Linked DNA regions of Homo sapiens: regions 1, 3, 4, 5, 6 and 7 are each linked to region 2. Evidence: promoter capture Hi-C in 16 types of primary human blood cells and fetal thymus (Javierre and others, 2016). All regions are on one chromosome and are shown on one strand. Each heading gives the region's core, a stretch centred on a gene start or on the middle of the fragment in contact. The rest is flanking DNA. Distances are from core to core; before and after follow the strand shown.

Region 1 (2,700 bases), core at 6-2,505, 830 kb after region 2:
ACACCAGTTGTTAGTTTCTGATACTTAAGAGCTACAGTGATGTAAGGCAGGTAATTGAACCTATGTGAGCCTCCAGCTGCTCTTGTGTAAAACAGTGAGGACAAGAGAACCTAATTCTAAGGAGTTCAGGATTAAAGGAGCTGAGGGTTAAATAATGCCTGCCAATCAGCCCACAGCAAGGACTCTTTATGATCAGCTGTCACTCTTTGCAATTATTTCGTTTCTCTTTGTTCACATAACATCCTAGACCAACTCAAACGGCAAGCTTCTTTAATATCGTCAGATTCTCTATACAAAAATGCCACACATTGCCAAAAATGGGCAAGTGCGTAAGGCGCCACTTTAGCCGGAATTGCCAAGAAAGCCACCTCCAAATAGGTGACATCTGGACAGAGGCCAGAAAGATATGAGAGGGAGGCCCTGCGAAGTTATAGGGGCAGTGTTCAAGGCAAAGGGAAGTGCAAAGAGAAAGCCTGGAAAAAGGAAGAAGACTGCACGGTCAGGTTGGTGGCTCTGAAGAGCAAAGGACAAGGGAAAAATGGAGAGACAAGGTCAGGGGTGGTTGGCCAGGTGGATGGGGTAGGGGCTGGCAGGCAACAGAGGAGGTTGGATTTAAGGGAAGTGTGATGAGATCCATGAAGGAAGCATCATTCATCCTTCTACCAAGGACTGAGCACCTGTCGGAGGCCAACACTATTGCAGGACTGCGGATAAAGGAAATGACAAGCTACGGCCACTTCTCTTAAATAAACGACGGCGACAAAGAAACATCCTGTGGCTGTCTTGGCTTCTGCCTGCCCACGAGGCCTCCAGAAGTAGCAGAGCAGCAGCAAGGCCAAAACCTCGTCCACTCACCTGCGCCGAGGCTGCCATCCTGAGACCCTGCAGCCCTAGCGGGGCCCGGGAATGCCGCGGCTCAGCCGACCCCCAGCCCTTCTCTGTCCTGGGCGGGGCGACCTCGGCTGACTTTCGCACTCGGAGCCTCAGTTTCCCCAGAGAAAAATGCGCACAAAGCGGGCGCAGCGTCGGGGCTGAGGAGACGGAGGGCGGCTGCGGAGGCCTAGGCCTCGGCAGGCGCCGGTGGAACACCCCGTTAGGGAAGAAGCGGGGCGTCAGGCTCCCGCCAAGATGCGGAGAAGGCGCGTAACAGCCTCATTACCCTCCCCTGCTCAGGCCGCTGGACGCGCCTACCCAGCGGTCCAGGCCCCACACTGTTCCAGGGCCAATCCTGCTCACGGAGATGACGTCACGCGACGAAGCGGAAGTCCCACCTCCGCCGCCCTGGCCCGCAGAAATCGCCCGTGTCCTGGCCCGTCATTGGCCTAGAGTCCGCGGCCGACGCAAGGGGTGGTGCCTTCTGAGTAAGGCAGTTTTTCCCTCACATCTACCGGGTGTGGGAACTCACCAAGCGCAGCCGACTCCATTTAAGTGCGCACAAGGACCCCCGCGTCGTCTTAGGGCCGCCGCTTTACTATGGGCACAAGTCGGAGGGTCGAAAGGTCCTTTCTAGCTTAGGAAAATTGAGGTCAGGAGGCGGGGATATTCGCCCCGATTGAGATCATGGGCTGGGCCCAGAGCTTCTGGCTCACTTCCCTTATTTTAGGGAGGTAGCTCATATATGTAATCTCAGTGCTTTGGGATGCCAACACAAAATAATTGCTGAGGTCAGGAGTTTGAGACCACCCTGGGCAATATAGTAAGATGTTATATCTACCAAAAAAAAAAAAAAGAGCAAGGCATGATGGTGTACACCTGTAGTCCTAGACACTGGGAGGCTGAAGCAAGAGGATTGCTTGAGCCCAGGAATTTGAGGTTATAATGAGATATGATGAGAGAAAACACACACACATAAACACACTGAGATGCCATCTTATACTGGTCAGAGTGGCTATTATTAAAAAGTAAAAAACCAACAGATGTTGGTATGGATGCAAGGAAAAGGGAACGCTTATATGCTATTGGTGGGAATGTAAATTAGTACAACCTCTATGGAAAACAGTATGGAGATTTATCAAAGAACTGAAAATAGAACTGCCATTTGATCTGGCAATTCCACTATTGGGTATTTACTTAAAGGAAAATAAACCACTATATCAAAAAGATGCCTGTACTTACATGCTTACTGTAGCACTATTCACAGTAGCAAAGTCATAGAATCAACCTAAGTGTCCATCGACAGATGATTGGATAAAGAAAATGCGATATATATATGTATATATATGTATGTATATGTATATATGTATATATATGTATGTATATGTATATATGTATGTATATGTATATATATGTATATATGTATGTATATGTATATATATGTATATATGTATGTATATGTATATATATGTGTATATATGTATGTATATGTATATATATGTATATATATGTATGTATATGTATATATATGTATGTATATGTATATATATGTATATATATGTATGTATATGTATATATATGTATATATATGTATGTATATGTATATATGTATATATGTATGTATATGTATATATATGTATATATATGTATGTATATGTATATATGTGTATATATATATACACTCCATGGAATACTACTCAGTCATTAAAAAAAATCATGGCTTTTGCAGCAATATGGCTGGAACTGGGGGGCCATTCTCTTAAGTGAAATAATTCAGAAACAAAGTCAAATACTGCATGTTATCACTTATAAGTGGTAGCTAAATGA
Region 2 (2,700 bases), core at 78-2,577:
TGCTAATTGATTTCCAAGTTGCTCCAACCATCACTATTGTGAGTGACAATTTAATCACTATTATGGCTTAGAATTTTTTTTCTAATTTTCATTTCAAAATTGTGAAGTATTTCAACCTGCGGAGAGGTTCGGAGAGTAATAGAATAATCTATAAATAATAAAGATGACACCCATGTATCATCGAGATTTTACCTGTGTTAACATGTAGTCAGATTTTCAGGTTTTGATTTGTTTTTTCCTATCAAGCATCACAGGTGTAACTGAGGTCTCCTTTGTCTCCTCCCCAACTCTTTCCCCTCAGTTGCCACTTTCTTGAGGTTGGACAATCTATCTGGTCCATGTTATTGTTACTTTACTACTTATGTATCAATCTCTGTATAACATATAGATTTTGTGTCTTTTATTTCCAGGTAAGTTGTATCATGTGGATAAGTGCACAGTTTACTTTTCGAACTGTTTTTGGAGAACTGTCTATCTTGTATATAAGTTAGTCCTTTTTTTTTTTTTTTTTTTTGAGACGAAGTCTCCCTCTTGTCCCCCAGGCTGGAGTGTGATGGTACGATCTCAGCTCACTGCAACCTCCGCCTCCCAGGTTCAAGTGATTCTCTTGCCTCAGCCTCCCGAGGAGCTGGGATTACAGGCGCCTGCCACCACGCCTAGCTAATTTTTGTATTTTTAGTGGAGACGGGGTTTCACCATGTTGGCCAGGCTGGTCTCAAACTCCTGACCTTAGGTGAGCCCAGTCCGTTTGTTTTAACCACCCCCTATTGCTCCGTTGCACATACCACAGTTTCTCTCTTCCCTGTCAGTAAATATTTAGGCTTCCCCATGCTAAAGTTTAAGAGAACCACTGAAAGAATGAAAATGTGTAGTTTTCATTTTCAACCGGCTATTGTTACTACAGAGGAAAGTTACTGGCTTTGTTTACATTTCTTAGATCTAGTCATTTTAACAAATTAGGCCTCCCAAAATGCTGGGATTACAGGCGTGAGCCACGCACCCAGTAAATAATTATATTGCCAATGAATAATGAGTGTACTTATTCTGAATTTTAACATTATTATCTCAAAAAAAGATTATAGATAAAGAAATATTTTAGGAAATTATGCAGTAAATAAAAGGAAGGCTCTATAACAAAAGAATGATAGCATCGGGTTAAAAATCAGAGGAGACCATAGGAGAAAGTAAATGCCTGCGCGTCCGCCCCGAGGCAAGTCCACGCCAGGGTAATGAATAACCCGGTACCCGCGGCCGCCCCAGCGTTGGGCGGGGGAAGCTCGGGGACTCCGCGCACGCGCACATCCTTGTCCCGGCAGCCGCGCAAGCGCAATCGCCCGGAACATGGCTGCCGCCGGCCGCCAACCGTAAGTGCCGACGCATCCCTGAGCCCTGCGCTGCCTCCGTTTCCTGCGGAGGGAAGTCTTGGCGGGTGGAGGTCCGCCGGGTCCTTGTGGGGCGGCGAGGGGCGCGTCCGCGGGTGGGTTTCACCTGGGTGGTGGGCATGTCGGGCCCGCTAGGGCGAGGGTCTGGCCAGGGGCGTAGTTCTCCTGGTGGGTGGGGACGCTCCGTGGCGATTGGGGTCACTCCTCTGAGGACGAGGTCGCTCCGGGGCTGGTCTGGACGCCCCCGCTCTTTCCTTAGCGTCACCCGTGAGTTCCGCGCTCGCATCTCTAGCCCGCCCTCCCATAGAGACTGTTTTGCCACGCCTGCTGGGTGTCCTGGTCCGTCTCCGGGGGTAACCCCCGAGTCTGCAGCTTTTCTGTCAGGTGTGAGGGGCAGTGTAGGCTTGGGTCGGCCTCCGGCTGAATTGGCGGCCGTGAGCCAGTGGGCTGAGCCGCTTCCCCTTGAGTCTCGAAGGTGTTAGATCACCTGTGTGTTTTTCCATTTGATATTTGCAAAATCATGTTTTACTGCAATTCTCAGTGAGGGCCGCATTTTTGCACGTGTTTAGTGACCATTTTGCTGTCTTTTCCCTTGGTTTAGTGGCATATTTCCTTTGTGCAGTCTTCCAGTCTCAATATTTTATGACATAAAATGTTGGTTTAGATAGAGAAGCTGAAAGACTTGTGCAGTGAACGACCCGGTTAACGTCTGCTGAACTTACTGTATCCCTTATCTTTCCTTCTGTCCATCCTTTCAGCCATTCATTAATCCACCTATTTTTGGAAACATTTCAAAGTAAGTTGCAGATATCACAACACTTCTCCCTCAAACACCTCACTATGCTTACCATGAATTAGAGTTCAGTAGTGCTTTTTTAAATTTTTTGAGCCAAAATTGACTTTCAGTGAAATGCACAGATATTCCCTGTACCATTGATGAATTTTGACAAATGCAACCTAAACCTTTATTAAAATTACCATCAGCCTGAAAAGGTCCTTTATTTTTTGCCAAGTTAAAAAATTTGGCTATAGGAACTTGGGCTTGTTGAAGTACGTTTTGAATACCCAGTTTTTGTCTGTTTTTTCTTTTTTCCCACAGCAAGTGACTTTCCTCCATTCTACTGCTTGTTTACCTCTCTCTTCACCCAACTTTTCATTTTGAAAAGTTCCGCATTTGCATAGAAGTTGCAGGAATAGTTTAACACTTCTAAAACCATCCAGATTCTAAAATTATTAACACTTTTTGCCACATTAGCTTTATCTTTATCTTCTCCCTGCCTGAGACACATGCATAGGTGTTACCAGAAAGGGGGTCCCG
Region 3 (2,700 bases), core at 88-2,587, 730 kb after region 2:
GTGAGACTTTCTAAGAAAAGCTTTCCCACATTCACTGCACTCATAAGGCCTTTCTCCAGTGTGAATTTTCTGGTGTTGAACAACATTGTATTTGAGGCTGAAGGCTTTTCCACATTCACTACACTTATAAGGCCTTTCTCCAGTATGATTTCGCTGATGTTTAATAAGGTCGGAGTTGTACCTAAACAATTTGCCACATTCACTGCACTCATAAGGCCTTTCCTCTGTGTGGATTTTCTGGTGCTCAAACAGTGTATGTTGGTGGCAAAAGTCTTTCCCACATTGGGTGCAGCTGTAATTATTCTGTCCACTTTGAAAGGCCTCCACACCATGAGTGTCCCTGTGTGGCTTCCACCCACTGTGAAGAGCCTGTTGTTGAAGATCTGAATCACCAGTAAAATCCTTGCCACCCTGCATGCATGTGAGGTTCCTCTTTGCCAGGTGAACACTGTCATTCACAAACGAAGGCCTCCCTTCATCACTTCTGGTGAGCTTCTCTCTAAGATGCTCCTTTTGGTGCAGGTAAAGCTTGGCTGTACGCTTGGGGTGTGTTCCGTCATGCTCAGCCAGGTGTAGAATGTCCTTCAGAAGTGAGCTACATGTCTCACAGGGCTGGGCCTTCTGGGTGGACAAAGCTGGCTTTAAAGTTGTGACCTGTGACACTCCTACAGAAACACATTGCTTGGAAGGTGCCTCCTCATCCTTGGCTCCATGCCAACAACCTAAAACAGAAATGCTCATGAAGTGCATGATGACTTTGGAGGGAAGAGGCAGCCCCATAACAAATGTCTGTCAGACCAACTCACAAATAAGACCATGGGATTGGTGACAGGCATGGGACATTAAAGCCAGTGAGAGGAAAGCCTACTGGGCAGAACCGGGACTGACAGAAACCCATAACGAAAGAGTCCTGATGATGGGGAACAACATAGGGAGTGGTACAGTGCAGAGCACAGAAGTGGAGTCCCCAAGTTACTCCTCAGTGAATGGCTTTCAACAGGCCATAGCTTCTGGTGAACAATGTGTAGAAGACTGTGTCCAGACCCAGAGAGATCTGATGTGACAGTAGAGCTGGTGTTCAGGGACTGCTGAAATATATACATCCAGACCTCACAACACCTTAAGTACAGGTCATATGTTGAGGGCACTACAAAGGGAACAGTAAAAGGAACAGGTGGCTGGGTGCAGTGGCTCACACCTATAATCCCAGAACTTTGGGAGGCCAAGGCAGGCGGATCAGCTGAGGTCAGGAGTTCGAGACCAGCCTGACCAACATGGAGAAACACCGTCTCTACTAAAAATACAAAATTAGCCAGGTGTGGTGGCGCATGCCTGTAATCCCAGCTATTTGGGATGCTGAGGCAGAAGAATCGCTTGAACCCGGGAAGCAGAGGTTGCAGTGAGTCAAGATCGCGCGCACCATTGCAAGAGCGAAACTCCATCTCAAAAACAAAAACAAAAACAAAAAAAAAACAAAAAACGGGAACAGGTGAGAGGTGGAGGCCAGAGACGTAGGGTCAGAGGTGGGAGCCAGGAGATGAAAGTCAAAAGAGAGATCACAATAGGGAAGAAAAGAGAGACATGCGGTGTGGCCACTGGCAGGGGCATCAAACTGGATTGATTCCCAGTGTGATGTGAACCCAGCCCTGTCATCACACCCCTTCTGAGCTCCCATCCACCAGGGCCAAGTCCTTTTGAGCATCTCTTGCCTTCAATGGAGTAATGTCCACTCTGTCAGGCACCCAGGGACCTCTACCTTGCTCAAGGTGAGCAACTATCTAGGTGTGGCGTTAGCCAAGCTAGGGGAAAGACAGGGAAAGGGAGGGTGTCAACAGCATGTACACAGAGCAATAAACCCAGGACATGCTGTATTCTAAAGTTACCAGAACTTCTAGTGGAGAGTCCTGCAGAAATAAGCCCACAGTCCTCACAAGCAGTGACGAGGTAGGTCCCTGAAATTCCTGACACAGGGTATCCCTATGTCAGCAAGAAGAATGGAGAAAGCCTTGCACAGAGAAAGTGTCATGCATTTGGACAGAGTAAACTAACCAGGGACAGGCAAGGTCATTAGGATATTCTTGAGAAACCTGAGGACTTCTGACTTTTGAGCCTTATAAGGCTTCAGAGTGACAAGAGCTAAGCTTCTTAAGGAAAATTGATACAGATCACACAGCCCAGCTGTAGCTGCCACAACACATATGCCAGGAAACCAGGAGAGGATGCAGCATCCATGACCTGGTGTGAGACGGAGATGCCAAGGAAAAAAGTGAAAAAACATTGCCCAGCACAAGACACTGACGTAGGTGTCAGGGCCTTACCTACTGAGGACAAAAGTGCAAAGTTCTCCAGCATCACATCGCTGTGCAGGTGTCTCTGAACGTCATTAAGAATTCCCCACTCCTCCTGGGAGAAATGTATGGCCACGTCCTCAAAAACCATATAATCCTGCCAAAATTATAACAGTTTAGTCTGTGAGCAACTTTTTTTTTCTTTCTTTTTTTTTTTTTTTTTGAGATGGAGTCTCGCTCTGTTGCCAGGCTGGAGTGCAGTGGTGTGATCTCGGCTCACTGCAAGCTCCGCCTCCCGGATTCAAGTGATTCTCCTGCCTCAGCCTCCTGAGTAGCTGGGATTACAGGCGCGTGCCACCATGACTGGCTAATTTTTGTATTTTTAGTAGAGATGGGGTTTCACCATGTTGTT
Region 4 (2,700 bases), core at 13-2,512, 710 kb after region 2:
ACACCCAGCTATTTATTATTATTTGTAGGGACAGAGTCTCCCTATGTTGCCCAGGCTGGCCTCAAGCAATCTTCCCACCTCTGCCTCCCAAAGTGCTGGGATTACAGGTGTGATCCACCATGCCTGGCCACTGGAACATTTTTGACTTGGCCAAAACTTGGTTCCTCATATGCTCTACTATATAAACACTCCCCCTACTACAGAACTTACTACATCTTAGTTGCTGGGACATCCATCCTTCCAAATAAGGCCAAAACTGTGGGGCCATTCCTGACCCCCTCTTCCATCTCAGCTCCCAAGCTTCCTTGCTCTCTACGTTATAAAATACAGGCAGCTCTAGATCAAACACATACAGAAGCCCCCCACTCCTCCCACTTCCACCACCGCCACTCTCGTTCAGTCACCAACAACCTCCACCTGGGCTGTTGCTGGACCCATCACCCAGGTATCGGTGGCTCCACCCTCACCTGCACGTGGTCTTCCATTCTGCAGGCAGAGGGAGCCACTAAAACCTGGGTCAGGTCACCTCTTTTTCCCCCCTCCTCAAACCTTCCCTAGTTACCATCGCCCTCAGATGAAAGGCCCAGAACCTTAGACTGCCATTCCATGCCGATCCCGCATGCCCTGTATGCCCCAACCTCCTACCCTGCTGCCATACTCTATCACGACCAGATACAACATGGATTTTCAGTTCACTAAACATCCCAGCTAAGTCGCACCAGTAAGCATTTGAACTTTCTATATCCCGTGCCTGAACGCCCTGCCACATCTTATCCCATCAGTTGTCGGAACTAGGACCACTCTATAACCAGAGGCTGAGTTCTGACTCCTGGTTGTCGTGGAACCACAGTCTTCAGACCCAAGGAAGGGAAAAACATGAAGTTTCAGGACACCACCTTTCCCTATATCAGGATGCCTAAAATAACGGAGAGATAAGTGGTGGGGGCCTGGGGTAGAGAGCCTGAGAAATCCTTGACTTACCTGTGCAGGGTCCTTATGCATTGCTGCCACTGCAATGGACCCTGTGGGAAGATGTGGCAGACTTGTACAGTTACTACTTGAGACCATCACTACGACAGTTACTGTTACTACTTGAGACCATCATTACGAGACTGAATGAAGGGGGACGAACGTAGAAATGAAAACTTAAGACGAAAGAAACTGTTTTAAAGAAGGCGAACTGGGGAAGAAGAGAGCTCCCTGCTTCTAGTGAGCAAAGGCAGCCCCTGAGCTTCCACAGCCCTCCACATTTATTGGGTAGGATGAAAGGGAGGAGGAGGTAACGACTGGTCAGCTGCTTAATTGATCACAAGTTCACATTATTGTTAACAGGCTTCAATTATGCCTAATCACAAGAAACACTTGTGCCTGGGTCGTGACTGCCTTCAGCATTCCTTCTGGGTGGCAGACGCAGTTTGTCAGTTTGCCAACATCCTGCTTTCATGAGAAACAGTTTGCTGTTTACTCATATAGCCTCCAGTGGCATACTGAGTTGATCACGACCCTCATTCTTTCGGCCTGTAACAGGAAGAAGCAAGCCATGAGTATCAGGACAGTACTGTGGCATCCTACAGGCTGAGCTGTACAACCATCTCTGCCCTGTACTGGAGCAAAGTAATCTGAAGCTACAGCAAGTCCTAAGTTCAGTGCTGCCTCTTAGCAGCTCTGTGTCTTTGGACAAGGACTGAACCTCCCTAAGCCTCAGTGCCCTTATGTGTAAAATGGAGATTAAAAGGGTTCCCACTTCACAGGGCTCATATTGACAAGAAGCATAAGTAGTACACACTATGTATAAGCATTACTTTCTATAGGATTAATGGTTTTGTACATGTTTTCAGCACAAAGTAGAAGGGTTTTGAAAATTTGAGTATTTTTCCCTTTTTTTTTTTTTTTTTTGAGACAGTGTCTCGCCCTGTTGCCCAGGCTGCAGTGCAATGGCACAATCTCAGCTCACTGGAACCTCCACCTCCCGGGTTCAAACGATTCTCCTGCCTCAGCCTCCTAAGTAGCTGGGATTACAGGCGCCCGCCACCACGCCCAGGTAATTTTTGTATTTTTAGTAGAGACAGAGTTTCACCATGTTGGCCAGGCTGGTCTCAAACTCCTGACCTCGTGATCCGCCCACCTTCGCTTCCCAAAGTGCTGGGATTACAGGCATGAGCCACTGTGCCCAGCCCACACTTCTTAATGTTTTAAGGAAATGTGATATATATATAAAGCTTTGTACTATAAGCAGAGTTACAGGTAAATTAACATTCTAACAATAAATATTTTAATACATTTAAATTATTGATTACATCTATTTCCAATTGCCTATGTGTACATATTTAGAAGGATATTGGCTGAGGAAAAAAAAAAATAGCCCAGACCTGTCTGACCTACACAAAATGTATCAGGCTCAGAGAGGCAAGAATATATGAGATGTCAGTCACATCCCTGAACCTATGCCTGAGGACAACTGTTTTAAGACATTCTGTTCCTGACTAGCTGTCTCACCTATTATCTTCATGTTTCTGTAATCTATAATATAAATAAGAATGTATAGCCAATAAAAACTTATCTTATTTTAACATAAGTTATTGGTAAACAACTCAGAAACTGCTTCTTTTTTCCTTAAAAAAAAAGCAAACACTTGTCACTGTGGTAATTGAAGTGTATATTCAGGACAACTTGAATCTATGGTCCCAGATGGCTATCATC
Region 5 (2,700 bases), core at 49-2,548, 650 kb after region 2:
TTCAGTGCAAATAAACTGGTAGGTTTTCAAAATGTGGGTTTCTGCCTGGGTGCAGTGGCTCAAGCCTGTAATCCCAACACTTTGGGAGGCCGAGGTGGGCAGATCACAAGAGCAGAATTCTGTCTCAAAAAAAAAAAAAAAAGAAAGAAAAAGAAAGACAATGTGGGTTTCCTTTTGGCAATCTGGCTGCCTGCTATATACTCCCCTGAAGACCATCCTGCTGAGAGCCCTCCCTTCTACTGGAGCAGTTGATCATCCCACCTGTGCTGATAGCTAGGGAAACTTAGGCACCAAAGGTGCTGCTCCACCAGCCTGGCTGACCTTTCCTTTTCTCCATATGGACTGGACATGAGGAACTACTAAGCCTGGAGTGGCAAACCTATATACTACCCAACACTGCGGTCTCCATCCAGTCCTGGGTGTTCATACTCTATAACCCTCCATTCCTGCAGGCACCAGACAAAATCACTTCGGACCACGAAACTCCAGGCTGTAGAGGCTGCCCCATCCTACAGGCCCATCTCTCCCTTCCCTCACCTCAGGGACCATCTGAAAGAAAACTTTAAGATTCTCCCTCCTAAATACGAGCCCCAGGCCTTCCAGCTGCTCATGTGGACATGACACCTCCACTCTGGGACATCTCAGGATCACCATGCCCAAAACCTATTCCCTGCACAGCCTTACCCATCTCCATCCTTCCTGATATTCAGGAACAAACAAAAATACAAATAAAAATCCAGAATGGCTCTTCATTCCCTACTTTCTTTCACAGTCACATCTGATGCAACAGGAATTCCCGTCTGTTCAGTTTTTGAAATCCATCCAAGATCTGATCACTTCCCCTCCTCTGTGGCCCAGTCCCAGTAGACTCTCCACTAGTCTACTGAATTTACCTACTCACAGGTCTGTCTTCACCCGCCTCACCCCCACCCCAGTCTGTTTTGACTTGAAGGGCCTTTGGCAAACTTTGAGAAACAGATCTTGTCACTCTTCTGTCTCCAGCCCTCCGCGGCCACTGTGGCCCCCTCAGGATGAAAGCGCAGCTGCTCGGGCTGTCGCTCGACACGCGCCTCGTCCCTTCCCAAGCTGCCCACTACAGACACCAGGAGGCCTCAGGTTCGGGACTCGCTGAATGCGCCTCACATCTTTGCGAGCCGGGCCCCTTGCCCTCCATTGCCACCCCATCACACTGCGTGTCAGAAACGGGACGCCGCCCACGAACGCCCCACAGTTCTGCACCCGGGGACCTGAGCAGGCGGCCCTCACAGGGCTTTAGGATTCGGGGGAGGCCGGGAGGACGCGGCGCTCACCTGAGCGGGGTCCCTCAGCGTGGCCGCCGCCATCGGAGCCTGTGGCGGTGAGACAACGACCGAGGAAAGGGCCCGGGCCACCCTGGGCGCCGCCACCGAGCCTCAGACCCGCCTCTGAGCTGCGAGAACACAGCGCGTCCCCACCGCGCTTTCCGGAGCTGGTCGCCGCAGCGAACAACCAGCTTCCGGCAAGCTGAGTTCTCTTGAGGGCAGCGAAAGCAACCGCCGAGGGGAGACGCCGGAAGTCCCGCCCATTGCGCGTCGCACTCTCGGGTAGACCTCTTTTCATTGGCCAAGCATCGCGGCTCACGGCGCGGCGCCTTCTGGGCAGTGTAGTTCGCGTGGCTCCAAACTTCGAGGAAGTGGGCATAACTTCGGAGATGGAGATTGGAGACGGTAGATGATGGAGATGGAGATGGAGATGGAGATGATGGAGATGATGGAGATGGAGATGATGGAGATAGAGATGATGATGGAGATGGAGATGATGGAAATGGAGATGATGAAGATGGAGATGATGGAGAAGATGGAGATGATGGAGAAGATGGAGATGATGGAGAAGATGGAGATGGAGATGATGGAGTAGGAGATGGAGATGGAGATGATGGAGATGATGGAGATGGAGATGATGGAGATAGAGATGATGATGGAGATAGAGATGATGATGGAGATGGAGATGATGGAGATGGAGATGATGGAGATAGAGATGATGATGGACATGGAGATGATGGAGATGGAGATGATGATGAAGATGGAGATGATGGAGAAGATGGAGATGGAGATGATGGAGTAGGAGATGGAGGAGAAATGAGTGTCGAGAACTCTCGGACTCATCTGGAACCTGTTGTAATTGGAGATGGGCCTGGATTTCAGTTTCCTGCAGCTGATACTCCAATCTTTCCTTCTTTTGAAGGACTTGAAGAGGATCTTCAGGGCCACCATAAAGAGGTTTCACTGGGCAAAGCCACGTATACCTTCCTAAATTTCCTTTGGCAAGGGGACACCCAATATTAATGCCTGATGTATGATAATAAGAAAAGGCTCTGAATTCTGGATGTAGGTGATGAGAGAGTAGGGGAGCCCAAGGATTTACGTTCCTCTTTCACCCCATTCTCATTTGTGTTCTTTCCTTCCTCAAGGACCCAACATTGGTGTAAAGGCACAACAACAGGCAGCAAACCCATAAGCCAACTCCCCCTCAATTTCTCCCCTTCATCCATTTCTGCTCCATATTCCTGTCACAGTTACTATGGGACTGAACGAAGGGGAACGAATGCAGAAATGAAAACAAAGGCAAAATAAATCTGTTTTAAAGAAGGGGTCAGGGGGCTTCTTGCTTCTAGTGAGGAAGGGCCCTGAGCTTCCACAGACCTTCATATTTATTGGGTAG
Region 6 (2,700 bases), core at 57-2,556, 670 kb after region 2:
TTTTCTTTGCCTCACTTCTTCCACTTATTTTACTATTATTTTACCTTTCTATTGATTATTTATTTATATTCCAAACATTTCCTCTTCTAGTTTGAAAAGTATATACGCTGACTGTATTTATTATATTTAGGCTAAAAATTACAAACGTTTAACACATTAGCGTGCCATACAGGATTGTAATACATTTGCTTTCCACTTGGAAATATAAAAAATTTAAAACTTTGAGCAACTAGCCTCCTTTCAATTTATATGTAGTTGAGGTTACGCACGGGAATTCCATCATTCTAACTCAATAAGTATATCTACTTATGTTTTACACTGTAATATGCTGTTATTTTAATCAAAAGATGCACTTCTTTTCATCTTCATTTCTTCTCTCATTGCAGACTTTTCACCTGAGATCAACTTTCTTTGGCCTTGAGTATTATTTTAAACATTATTTTTTGTGTAAATGTATTTCCATTACATTTATCATTTTTGGTTTCAAATAGTTTTATATCACACTTCCATAAAAGACATTTTGTTGTGTATAGACATCTAGTTTGGTGGTTATTTCTTCTTTACAGAAAGTGTTCATGTTGCCCTTTTCATTGCCATATGACATTTGATGAATTCTGTCTTTTCAGACACTTGTAAAACACTTAAAATATTGAATACATCTCTGTATATGGAGTATGAAATACTATCTTGAACAAGAGTATTACTTGTTGGGTTTGACACAATCACTGCTGTATAAGCAGGATAAATATTTTCTGAGGTAACAGACAGAAGGGTTATTCACTTACTTCAAGGCCACCAAACATCCCCACTCCACGTTCCACATCATGGTGTCTGGAGTCTTTTCTTTCTTGTGCCTGACAGAAAATGCTGAGGCTCGCCAAACTAACTCTGGAGCATCAGGCTACACGCATTTGAAAACAATATTTGTTAACTTCCAGCCATAGAAATCTGAGTGACGTCAGTGTATGGTGTGTCCATTTTATTTTTTGATGAGCATTCTCTGCGTAAGGAAGGCTGAAATCATGTCTCTAAACATTCCTTTGATGTCAAACACGACGTTCACCAGAAATACAGATATGGCTCCTTCAAGAGGAAGCTAAGCTCCGTCTGGGCCTTGGAGACGAGGGACACCATTTCCACGCGCCCCTGGCGGTCTTCTCTGGGCTTTTAACCTGGAGGTGAAGCGAGACGCCGCTTACTAGTGTTGGTGCCGTGGGAACTACATTACCCAGGAAACTTGGCGGCTCTGGGCCAATGAAAACCCAGGAAATAGGCGTTTCCGTTGGTCCTCACCAACGTCAGGGCGGGACTTCCTCTACCATCCTCGGGTGGACATTTTGTTTGCTTTTCCATTAATCCACTGGTTTAGTTTCCAGAACGCAATGTCAGACCTGAGGTGACAGAAAAGGGAAAACGTGAGAGAGTGTCTTCTTCCCTGAAGAGAGGTGGGCCTGAGGCTTGACAGTGGCGCTGCCTGAGTGACCTAGCCGCTGGGCTGGGCCCTGGACAGCTGATCCCAGGTTCCTGCACTTGTCGCCACCCTTCCGTAGTCCACAGGCCTGATGGCGGCGGCTGAGCCGATGGGCCCGGCACAGGTGGGTGCTGCGTCTGCGAGTCTGCGCGCTGACCCCCATCTCTGAATCCCAAAGCTTCGAATGAACGATTCCTCGGGTTACTGCAGCTCAGGCCCCTGTATCTAGAACAGTGGGGGCGCTCGTGTTTGGGACCCATTTTGACAGCACGAGTTGAAGGACGTTCCAGGCAGAGAGACCAGTGTATGCAAAGGCTCAGAGATGGTTCACAGCTGGAGCATTTGGGAAAACTGGGCCTTTAGTGTCTGAAAGGATCAGAGCGCTTTATAAGTGATTGCACCTGGAATATCATCCTGAGCAGCTGGGTCTCTATTCTGAGGGTGATGGGAGCCATGGAAGGTTCTGAACAGAGGAGAGCCAGAATCCGAGGGTTTAAAAAGTATTCCATAGACTGCTCATGGAGGGCAGACTCTTGTTGGCCATGGGGGCGGATAATGAGCACTGTTCCGAGCTAACACAGTTAAGAGGTATCCTTGAAGATGGAAGCACAGAGGGTAGACATTCAGCTCCCAGGCACATTGTAACTGGGTAGGAATATGGGATGGGGTTGAGCCTTTGGGGTTCCTTCAAGATTGCTTGACTCGCATAGTCTCCCTCTTCCCCACAGGTTCCCATGAACTCAGAAGTAATTGTGGACCCTATACAGGTGAGGGGAGAATGTCCATGCTCTCACCGATCCCACCCCCACCCAATACGCTCTCCAGCATTGTGGTGTTATATAGAACACTCTCCTGCTACTCTCCGATCTCTTGGGTCTGAGGACTCTGGAGAAGCCCCAAGCCCAGGGTCCTGACTCCGGGCCAGGGGTTTTATGGAGGGGTTTCCATTTCTGCCAACCATTGGAATAAGGTTGGAAGGTTGTTCCAGGCACAGGAACCAGCCTGTGCAAAATACTTAGAGGTGAGACTGAGAAGGGAGTTTTCAAGAAATTGCAGGTCTCTGTCATGTCTGGTGGGAACCAAGAGCAAGGGGGCGGGAATCATCCTGAAATGGCTTAAAGATGATTATGTAGATTGGGAGTTAAAAGAGAATATTCATTTCACAGTGGTAGTGCATTTAGTGAGCCAGGAAAGTGATGGTGGAGAGCCAGAGTTGTGAGATAACTGTG
Region 7 (2,700 bases), core at 18-2,517, 690 kb after region 2:
TCTCAAAAAACAAAAACAAAATACCAATACTATGCTGTTTTGGATACTATGGCTGTGTAAGGTGTTGAAGTCAGGTAGTGTGATGCTCCAGGTTTGTTCTTTTGGCTCAGGATTGCTTTGGCTATTTGGGCTCTTTTGAAGATCCATACAAATTTTAGAATTTTTTTCTATATCTGTGAAAAAATGGCATTTGTATGTTGATTGGGCTTGCATTAAATCTTTAGATTGTTTTGGGTAGTACTGTCTGTTATTTTAACAATATGTATTCTTTGAATACATGAGCATGGGATGTCTTTCCATTTGTTTGTGTCCTCTTCAGTTTATTTTATCAATGCTTTGTAGTTTTCCTTGATGTCTTTCCCCTCTTGATTAAATATTTCTCAGTGTTCTATTTTATTTTATTTTGCTTTTTATAGCTATTGCAAATGGAATTGCCTTCTTGATTTCTGTTTTGGCTATTTCATTATTGGTGTACCGCAATGCTACTGATTTTTGTATATTGATTTTGTGTCTTACAACTATATTAAATTTGTTCCCCAGTTCTAAGAGTTTATAAGATCATATTACAACAAAGAAAAACAATTTTACTTTATATTTTCTCACCCGAATATCTTTTATTTAGTTAGCTAGGTATTTTTCTTGCCTGATTTCTCTGGCTAGGACCTCTAGTACTATACTGAATAGGAGTGGCAAAAATAGGTATCTTATACATGACATTCAGAAATGTGCACACATTATAGTGGTATGCTTCAATACATTTTTCTTGTAGGTCAACACATCTCTGAAGGCAGGACACATTCAAAGAAAGTCCAAAAAGACCAACACCACATGGTCATGGTCTCACTTGTATGCAGAATTTAGGCAAGTTGAGTTTATAAAAGTAGAGAGTAGAATGGTGGTTACCAGAGGCTAAAGAGATAGAGGGCAAACTGAAAAACGGGAGGTTTTTGTGAAAGCATACGAAGTTTCAGTTAGACACAAGGAATGTGTTCTAGTGATCTGTTGCACGGCGTGGTGACTATTGTTAATGTCTATTCCAAAATTGCCAAAAGAGTAGATTTTAAATGTTCTCATCAGAAAGAAATGATAAGTATGTGAGGAGATGTGTATTAAAACATAATGACGGACAAGGTTTTATAATGCCTTATTTTTGCCTTACATATTCCTGAGCATTTTTACTGACCATTTTATTAACAATAATTTTAATTTAATTTTAGACTCACAAGCAGTTTAAAAAATAACTCAGAGAGCCTCTACACATGGCCCAGTTTCCACCCATGGTTACATTTGGCAATTACAGTATAATATCACAATGATGATATTGATTTTGATATATTCACTATCATCTTTTTTTTTTTTTTTTGAGATGGAGTCTCACTCTGTCGCCCAGGCTGGAGTGCAGTGGCGCGATCTCGGCTCACTGCAAGCTCCACCTCCTGGGTTCATGCCATTCTCCTGCCTCAGCCTCCCGAGTAGCTGGGACTACAGGTGCCCGCCACAATGTCCGGCTAATTTTTTGTATTTTTAGTAGAGACGGGGTTTCACCGTGTTAGCCAGGATGGTCTCTATCTCCTGACCTCGTGATCCGCCTGCATCGGCCTCCCAAAGTGCTGAGATTACAGGCATGAGCCACCACACCCGGCCCTCACTATCATCTTAATATTTTCCTAATTTTACTTATACTGATTTGAGGAGAGTCTCTTGCTACAAATGTGTTGGACTTGCTGCTTGTGTCTGTATAGGACAAAGACTATGGAGCCACTGACCCACACCAAGAAGCCAAAACTCAAAAAGTCAGGAGAAAAGTATATAATTGTATATAAGGTGCCAAATATTTCTTGCATTGCCCAGGAGCAGACTCCATAATTGTTTTTCACACTAAGGTTTTTGCTGTTCAGTGGGCTGTTATTAAAACGTCAAGAAACAACAGATGCTGGCAAGGTGGTGGAGAAATAGGAATGCTTTTCCACTGTTGGTGGGAAGGTAAATTAGTTCAACCATTGTGGAAGACAGTGTAGCAATTCCTCAAAGACCTAAAACCAGAAATACCATTTGACCCAGCAATCCCATTACTGTGTATATATCCAAAGGAATATAAATCATTCTATTATTATCATTCTGTTATAAGGATACATGCATGTATATGTTCATTGCAGCACTATTCACAATAGCAAAGAAATGGAATCAACCCAAATGCCCATCAGTGATAAAGAAAATGTGGTACATATACACCATGGAATACTATGCAGCCATAAAAAGAATGAGATCACGTCCTTTGCAGGGATATGGATGGAGCTGGAAGCCATTATCCTCAGAAAACTAACACAGAAACAGAAAACCAAACACCAAATGTTCTCACTTATAAGTGAGAGTTGAGCGATGAGAACACATGGAGACAGGGAGGGGAACAACACACACTGGAATATGTCAAAGGGGTCGGGGGATGGAGCACATCAGGATAAATAGCTAACGCATGCTGAGCTTAATACCTAGGTGACGGGTTGATAGGTGCAGCAAACCACCATGGCACACGTTTACCTATGTAACAAACCTACACATCCGGCACCTGTATCCTGGAACTTTAAAAAATTAAATTAAATTGGCGCGGTGGCTCACGCCTGTAATCCCAGCACTTTGGGAGGCCAAGGTGGGTGGATCACGAGGTCAGGAATTCGAGACCAGCCGGGCCAACATGGTGAA

The links. The method cuts DNA at HindIII sites, captures the fragments that hold promoters and counts their contacts. A CHiCAGO score of 5 or more calls a contact.
Region 1: the fragment with the promoter of ZNF543 here is called in contact with the fragment with the promoter of ZNF329 in region 2 in 14 of 17 cell types (naive CD4 T cells, naive CD8 T cells, activated CD4 T cells and 11 more); the score reaches 29.2 in naive CD4 T cells.
Region 3: a fragment that was not itself captured here is called in contact with the fragment with the promoter of ZNF329 in region 2 in 5 of 17 cell types (naive CD4 T cells, total CD4 T cells, activated CD4 T cells and 2 more); the score reaches 10.7 in naive CD4 T cells.
Region 4: a fragment that was not itself captured here is called in contact with the fragment with the promoter of ZNF329 in region 2 in 4 of 17 cell types (non-activated CD4 T cells, naive CD4 T cells, total CD8 T cells and 1 more); the score reaches 6.4 in non-activated CD4 T cells.
Region 5: a contact is called between a fragment that was not itself captured here and the fragment with the promoter of ZNF329 in region 2, in 5 of 17 cell types (total CD8 T cells, naive CD4 T cells, fetal thymus and 2 more). The highest score is 6.9, in total CD8 T cells.
Region 6: the fragment with the promoter of ZNF772 here is called in contact with the fragment with the promoter of ZNF329 in region 2 in 17 of 17 cell types (total CD8 T cells, total CD4 T cells, naive CD4 T cells and 14 more); the score reaches 31.9 in total CD8 T cells.
Region 7: a contact is called between a fragment that was not itself captured here and the fragment with the promoter of ZNF329 in region 2, in 4 of 17 cell types (naive CD4 T cells, erythroblasts, non-activated CD4 T cells and 1 more). The highest score is 7.2, in naive CD4 T cells.

What each region holds. Positions count from the first base shown.
Region 1 is chr19:57,319,027-57,321,726 of GRCh38, reverse strand. It overlaps ZNF543 (zinc finger protein 543), which reads right to left and starts at 1,255. Exons shown (of 4, transcript NM_213598.4): 1 at 856-1,255. The coding sequence starts at 873. RefSeq lists enhancers at 1,157-1,306, 1,317-1,436, 2,362-2,700. The HindIII fragment of the contact is 3,609 bases long and covers 268-2,700 here.
Region 2 is chr19:58,149,416-58,152,115 of GRCh38, reverse strand. It overlaps ZNF329 (zinc finger protein 329), which reads left to right and starts at 1,327. Exons shown (of 4, transcript NM_024620.4): 1 at 1,327-1,364. RefSeq lists an enhancer at 1,191-1,250. The HindIII fragment of the contact is 7,703 bases long and covers 1-2,700 here.
Region 3 is chr19:57,417,657-57,420,356 of GRCh38, reverse strand. ZNF17 (zinc finger protein 17) reads right to left here. Exons shown (of 4, transcript NM_001330617.2): 3 at 2,319-2,445; 4 at 1-722. Among named protein-coding and RNA genes, the nearest start is that of ZNF17, 7.8 kb to the right of the region's middle. The HindIII fragment of the contact is 1,613 bases long and covers 531-2,143 here.
Region 4 is chr19:57,436,920-57,439,619 of GRCh38, reverse strand. All of the region lies in intron 1 of ZNF749 (zinc finger protein 749), which reads right to left. Among named protein-coding and RNA genes, the nearest start is that of ZNF749, 2.9 kb to the right of the region's middle. The HindIII fragment of the contact is 1,919 bases long and covers 303-2,221 here.
Region 5 is chr19:57,498,724-57,501,423 of GRCh38, reverse strand. It overlaps ZNF773 (zinc finger protein 773), which reads right to left and starts at 1,486. Exons shown (of 4, transcript NM_198542.3): 1 at 1,311-1,486. The coding sequence starts at 1,343. The HindIII fragment of the contact is 4,827 bases long and covers 1-2,700 here.
Region 6 is chr19:57,476,172-57,478,871 of GRCh38, reverse strand. It overlaps ZNF772 (zinc finger protein 772), which reads left to right and starts at 1,306. Exons shown (of 4, transcript NM_001144068.2): 1 at 1,306-1,595; 2 at 2,200-2,238. The coding sequence starts at 1,563. RefSeq lists enhancers at 792-1,991, 1,582-2,105. The HindIII fragment of the contact is 1,804 bases long and covers 1-1,651 here.
Region 7 is chr19:57,459,112-57,461,811 of GRCh38, reverse strand. It overlaps the pseudogene VN1R107P. Among named protein-coding and RNA genes, the nearest start is that of VN1R1, 3.3 kb to the right of the region's middle. The HindIII fragment of the contact is 3,582 bases long and covers 1-2,700 here.